Linked DNA regions of Homo sapiens: region 1 is linked to region 2. Evidence: promoter capture Hi-C in 16 types of primary human blood cells and fetal thymus (Javierre and others, 2016). All regions are on one chromosome and are shown on one strand. Each heading gives the region's core, a stretch centred on a gene start or on the middle of the fragment in contact. The rest is flanking DNA. Distances are from core to core; before and after follow the strand shown. Region 1 overlaps STPG2 (sperm tail PG-rich repeat containing 2). Region 2 holds the start of ADH7 (alcohol dehydrogenase 7 (class IV), mu or sigma polypeptide).

Evidence for each region. The method cuts DNA at HindIII sites, captures the fragments that hold promoters and counts their contacts. A CHiCAGO score of 5 or more calls a contact.
Region 1: a contact is called between a fragment that was not itself captured here and the fragment with the promoter of ADH7 in region 2, in 1 of 17 cell types (M2 macrophages). The highest score is 5.9, in M2 macrophages.

The regions. Positions count from the first base shown.
Region 1 is chr4:98,091,765-98,094,926 of GRCh38, forward strand. All of the region lies in intron 5 of STPG2 (sperm tail PG-rich repeat containing 2), which reads right to left. Among named protein-coding and RNA genes, the nearest start is that of STPG2, 50 kb to the right of the region's middle. The HindIII fragment of the contact is 3,287 bases long and covers 1-3,159 here.
Region 2 is chr4:99,433,920-99,436,965 of GRCh38, forward strand. It overlaps ADH7 (alcohol dehydrogenase 7 (class IV), mu or sigma polypeptide), which reads right to left and starts at 1,423. Exons shown (of 9, transcript NM_000673.7): 1 at 1,297-1,423. The coding sequence starts at 1,314. RefSeq lists a promoter at 1,336-1,909. The HindIII fragment of the contact is 5,841 bases long and covers 1-2,208 here.

The DNA of each region.
Region 1 (3,162 bases), core at 266-2,765, 1.3 Mb before region 2:
TGTATATACATATATATTCAGATATCATTGGATTCTCACAATAACCTTTTTGTAGAGTATTATTATTCATATTTTAGAGACTTAAAAGGAAGAATATTGAGGCTTAGAATAGCAAAATATCACACACCTAGTATGTGATGGAGCAAGAAATTGAATGCAGTGTGATTCCAAAGTCTGAATTCTTTACCACTAAACCATAAATAAATACAAAAGGTTTTATTTATTTTATACACATCTTAAAATTTTACCATGAATGAGTATGACTTTGGTATATAAAACTCACTCAGTGCAGTACAAACTATTTTACAATAAGACTTGAAGAGATAAGGTGCTCTCCCAAAAGATACTGAATTATTGTTTAAGCAATAACTAAATATTTTCAATCTCTTCCTCACTCCTTCTCTCACATATAATTTTGTCCATTTATCTTTTAATAATTCAACCCTTCCATCTTTATTGACACTTTTTTCACTTCTTTAAAATCCATAATTTAAAAATTGAAAAACTTTCCTTAGAAAATGGGAAAAGTGAGCAATCAGAATTTGAGATACAGTAACTGTAACATGAACAACTAATTTAGGTTTGGGGGGAAAAGCGTGTTTAATTATGTGCAAGTCTTCTTAAGTCTCTGTTCACCCTCAAAACCAAGGCCACTACCACATATTACTAACAGTAATAAATTGCCAAGTGCCTGTTATAAAGCCAAGTAACCAGATAATTTAATAAATATTAAAGACTAACAATGATAAGGAAGAAAGTAAAAATGTTTACATTGAAATTAATGGAATAATCCACCCATTAAAGAAAAAAACACAGAAAGTTTTAAATTATTTCTCCCTTTCATGTCCTTATTATTAACCTGTTTAGCATAATTTTACTTATTTGAAACTAAAACTTTCTATTTAAGATCTATATTAGTAAATTATTTTATGTAACCTAAAATTTTATACTAATCAAGAGAATAACCTAGTCTATAAATAACATCTTTTAATATAACTTTTAAAAGTCTAATAATTTTGATAAATTTATATAGATGAATAGAAATAACTTAGTTTGCAGCTAGAATCTAAATAATATTTTTAAATAGTTCCAAGGTATTTTCATTTGGCAGAACTGCCAAAAGAACTAAAATTTCCAGTTTAGGATTTGCTCAAATGAACTTCAAGGCAAATTTTCGTATCTTGCCACATAATTTTTAGGCATTTGTTTTAATGAATTTGAGAAATGAATGAATAAATAAGGTGTTATGTCAATAAAGAGCCAAAGTATTGGCGCCACCTAGTGAAACTGTACTCAGTTATTTGACCTAATACAAAGCTAACACAGCAACTTCATATATTTTGTATTACCAAATTAAAGAACTTCAATAGAAACAATTACCAAATGTTTTTGCATAGTAAAGATTTATCTTAAAGACTTTGTTAATATTAAGAAAGATACTAAAAAATTTTTCATTGCCAAAGGCAAGACATTCCTTAGTGAACTATTCAGGTTGCATAAAAGTTAATATTTGTGTTTTTTAACAGGAATTCTCAGTAAATTATAATGTCATAAATATTCAAAAGATATATTAAAACAATACTACATGTACAAATTAAGTAAATTCAAGGACAGTTATGATTTAAAAAACTCACATTGATTAAAATATTATATTCATATTATTACACATTTTGTTGCAATATCAGAAAATGCTTAAATCCAAAGATACTATAGGAGGGGGATAAAGATGATGGAATAGAAGCCTACACCATTCATCTCTCCTGCTGGAACACAAAATTTTAACAACTATCTACATGAAGAAAAGCACCGTCACAAATACCAAAACCCAGGTGGCAATCACAGTACATGGTTTTGACTTCATAACGCTAAAAGAGGCATTGAGGAAGGCAGGGGATATAGTCTTGAATCATCGATGTCACTCCTTCCCCATCCCCCAACTGTAGCCATGCAGCACAGAGACAGAATCAGTACATTTTGGAGAGGCAAAGCACAGCAATTGGGGGACTTTACATTGAACTTGGTGCTGCCCTGTCAGAGTGGAGAATAAAGCCATGCTGAGCTCAGCCAGCACCCATGCATAGAAGGAGCATTTGGACTAGCCCTAGCCAGAGGGGAATCACCCATCCCAGTGGTTGGAACTAGAGTTTCTCAGGAAGTCTTGTTACACGGAGTGAAGTGCTCTGGGGTCCTAAGTAAACTTGAAAGACAGTCTAGGACAGAAGGACTGCAATTTCTAGGCAATTCATAGTAGTAGACTGGGTTTAGAGCCAGGAAGCTAGGATAGCACAGGACCTAGGGAGATACCAGCTGGTGCAGCTAAAGGAGAGCTTGTGCCGTGCCTCCCACAATCCCAGGCAGTGCAGCTTATAGCAATGAAAGTGACTCCTTCCTTCTGCTTAAAGAGAGTGAAGAGTAAAGAGGACTTTGGATAGAGTATTGAGCAGAGTTGTGAAGCCTCCATTCCAGGCCCTAGCTCCTGAATGATATTTCTAGACACACCCTGGGCCAAAAGGAAACCTGCTGCCTTGAAGCAAAGGCATGATTCATTACCTGCTGACTAAAGAGCCCTTGGGCCCTGAATAATCAGCAGTGATAACTAGGGAGTTTGCCTTGTGCCTTGGGTTCTGAAATGTGCTGGCTTCAGTGACAACCCAGCACATTCCCAGCTGTGGTGGCTACAGTGAAAGACTCATTCTGTTTTTAAAAAGCAGAGTAAAGGGGACTTTGTCTCGCACCAACTCGACCAGTGGAGTAGAGCAACAAGCAGGCTTTTGGGGTCCCCGAGTCCAGGCCTAGGCTCTTGGACAGCATTTCTGGACCTGCCCTGGGTCAGAGGGGAGCCCACTGACCTGAAGGGTGTGTCCCAGGCCAGGCAGCATTCATCACAAACTGACAGAAGAGCCCTTGGGCTTTAAGTGAACATTGGCAGTGGCCTAGCACAACCCCTCCACCTCAAACCCCCATGGATCAGTGGTGGTAGTGGACACAGGGAGAGGCTCCTCTGCCTGTGGAAAGGGGAGTGTAGGTCAAGAAGGACTTCATATTATAGTTTGAGTGCTAGCTTAGCCACAGTATAATAGAACATCAGGTAAATTCCCAAACACGAAATTACAGTGTTATACTTAACAAAGTATATAGTTGTTTATGCTTGTTAAAATAAGC
Region 2 (3,046 bases), core at 173-2,672:
AGAGAAAAAATCAATCCCAATGTAAAGGGAAACTCCTTTCAAGAGCTACACTGGAACACTACAGAAAGTTGGGAAATATATAATCCTTAGGCAAACCACACTATTGCATGACCATATATCAAAATCATATAACTTTTATACTCTTTATATATTATATACTGTATTATTAATTGGAAAGTGCTGCCTTGAGGCTACTTTCTCCATCATCAGAAATGTTCTTACAGTGGATGAATATCGACTTCCTAGAAATAGTGTAACCAGACCTGAAGCATCTGTTGGGTGGTAAAAGTTGCAAATTTTTAAGATTCCTTTCAGTTCTAAGATTCATTAATATCCATGGGTAGAGTTGCTAGTTTCTGTAGTGCAAAATTAACTTCCCAAGTAATCTAGTTTTGCTGGATTTCTGACCCAAATTAGGATGGTTTTATTCCAGTTCTATCCAATTCTAGTAAAACTTATTTCAAATTCTAACATCATAGAGTCTCCTGACTTGTCACATTACCCAGACTTCTCATGTCATCTTTATTTTTCCAAAACCTTAAGCAAGCTAAATGCAAAATTGTTCAAGTTAAAACAAAACAAACAAAAAAATTTAGTCCTTTAAGCAATTATGTACCCATTTAAAGTAAGGAAATATACTGACCTATTTTCAAATAAAAAAAAACAAAGCAAAGCTGTTTCTAAAGTTAATACCAACTCTGCTAACTCTGTTGTTTTTAGAACGATAAACATACTTTACCAATAATATAGTCTTGATTTTAAAGAATTTTTAAATATATATTTTGATAAAAATTACATTTGTAAGAAACCTAAAATTCATGACACTTTCTTGGCCATTTTGCATCCCAGAATTAGCATTTTCCATTCTTAATGGCAGGAACGTTTCTTCCAACATCTGGGCATGAGACCCTGGTTTCCCATTGAACTACTGCAGCGAGTGCAGCACATGCTACTGAGACGATTGAAGTGTCCTTGTGGAAACATTTGGCTTCCTGGAGCAATTGCCCAGCTATCCGGAAATCAAATTATGAATAATGCCAATATAAATCAATTTCTCTATTTTCCACCAATGTCTTGCTGACATTGGATATACTATTTCCAACTTACCCCTGCTTCCACTGACATTCTCTGAAACACCATATCCAGTGTTTCCCTCACTGTATGCCTGCTCACCAAGCATTTCATTCCTCAAGGAATATCTCCAAGTGTTTAATTACTTTAATGGATTCAAAGTTCTAAGTATCAGCCTCACATCATTAGGTCATGATGAGGAGGGGACAGAAATGTTCCACTTACTTTTCCAGCAGTGCCCATCCTGTCTTTGTCTTGGATCTGTATTTCTGCAAACATAGACTTTTTCTGACTGATGCTCAGTTCACTCTGTTGTATATAACAGCAGCTTGTGCCTTCACATAGATAGTCTGGCTTCAGAGTTCCACCTTCAGCAATATGACTCACAGCCGTCACAACTTTGCAATGGTCTGCAAGCCCTACCCTTTGCAGACCAACTTATAAAAAGAAATACAGTAACTACTATGATCAAACCAAGAGGAGGGATCTAACAAAAACAAGATAATCAAAGCTATTGAAAAGGGCTGAAAGCATTCCTATCCACCTTATTTTGAAGGATATAAAAACGGGTTAGGTTACTTCACTTCAACACAATCATGAAAAATGTATTGGGTGTTTAAGTGCAAGCTGCTTTGCCTAGGCATGGCTGATTTTAGAGATGCGTGTGTACATCTCTACTTCTTAATGCTCTACTTCATTCTGCAAAGACTTGATGTGGTTTCTGGAATTAAATATAAATGAAAACAGAGCCAAGGAAATGTAAAATAATTGCAACAGTAGGTCAAGTTTGGGCAAGAGAAGTTGAGATGATATAAAATATCAATATGGATGACTATGGTTTCTAAGTATTTTAGGTGTAGAAAGTTAAGTGAAACTTTCTGTGTCTGCACTTAGAGAAATTATCATCTGACTCCAAATCCCATTAACCACAGAGTTGCCTCATATGGTTGTACAGTTTGTTTACGGCACCAATGTAACACAGTGCAGGGGCTCAAGAGAAATTGAAATCCAGCCTGCATACTGGCTATCGAATGCCAGAGGGTTTTCATCTACTTGGGCAAGTACCTAGGTCTTCTTGAGTAGCTGTTTAACCATTACAGACCATTATTTCTTAATATAAGTTGCAATGGCTCCAGAAGCTTCTGGATCTATTATTTGATAGGAGAATGTCCAGTATAGATGTTATTTTTGACAGTAGATGGTCAGCATACTGGTACACCAGATGGTCAGCATACTGGTACACCATCACCTCCAAGAAAACTTTACACAAAGGATATTTTACTTTTGTTAAGTGATCCAGTGAAGCAGGTTTTCTAAGTCTTCAGACAAAGCTGTTCAAGCTATGAAGTCCAGAACCTGGACTCTTAACAACCCAGAGATGAAATTTGCTAAGAGTTTATTTTTCAGATACAAACAAAAGTTTCTTTTCAAAAATAAGTATACATTTTTTCCACACATCTCTCTTTCAATATAACATAGTAAATGTACATCCAATTTAACATATATTATGTCAAATTCAGAATTTGTAATTAGAATTTGTTACTACAACTCATTAACCAAATCAAATCCACCAGGAAAAACCATTGCCAGTTGATTTGGCTTGTGAGTAAGCACCATTGCTTTAGCAGTAGTGCTGAAGAACTCCAGTATGTTTGCTGGCACTATAAGACAAAGTTAAACAGGTGTGGACAAGGACAGGTATTCTTAGTCTCGACTTTCAAACAAAAACTTGTTTACTTATGAACAAAAGAAAATGAGTTCAAACATGGGTGGTGACAGCATAAATGCAAAAGCGCTGAATTGATAAACTCCCTCTTAAGGGCTTGGCAAAACTTTGTATCATATTAATCTAAAATTTTTTTACAAAAAATAATGTATCATGTGAGGCTTAATATCTGAATAAGTCTTATGGTCCTAATCCAGTCTCCATGAAACTTGATTGGATGATAAAGTGCCAAAAGCTGAATCTTGGAAG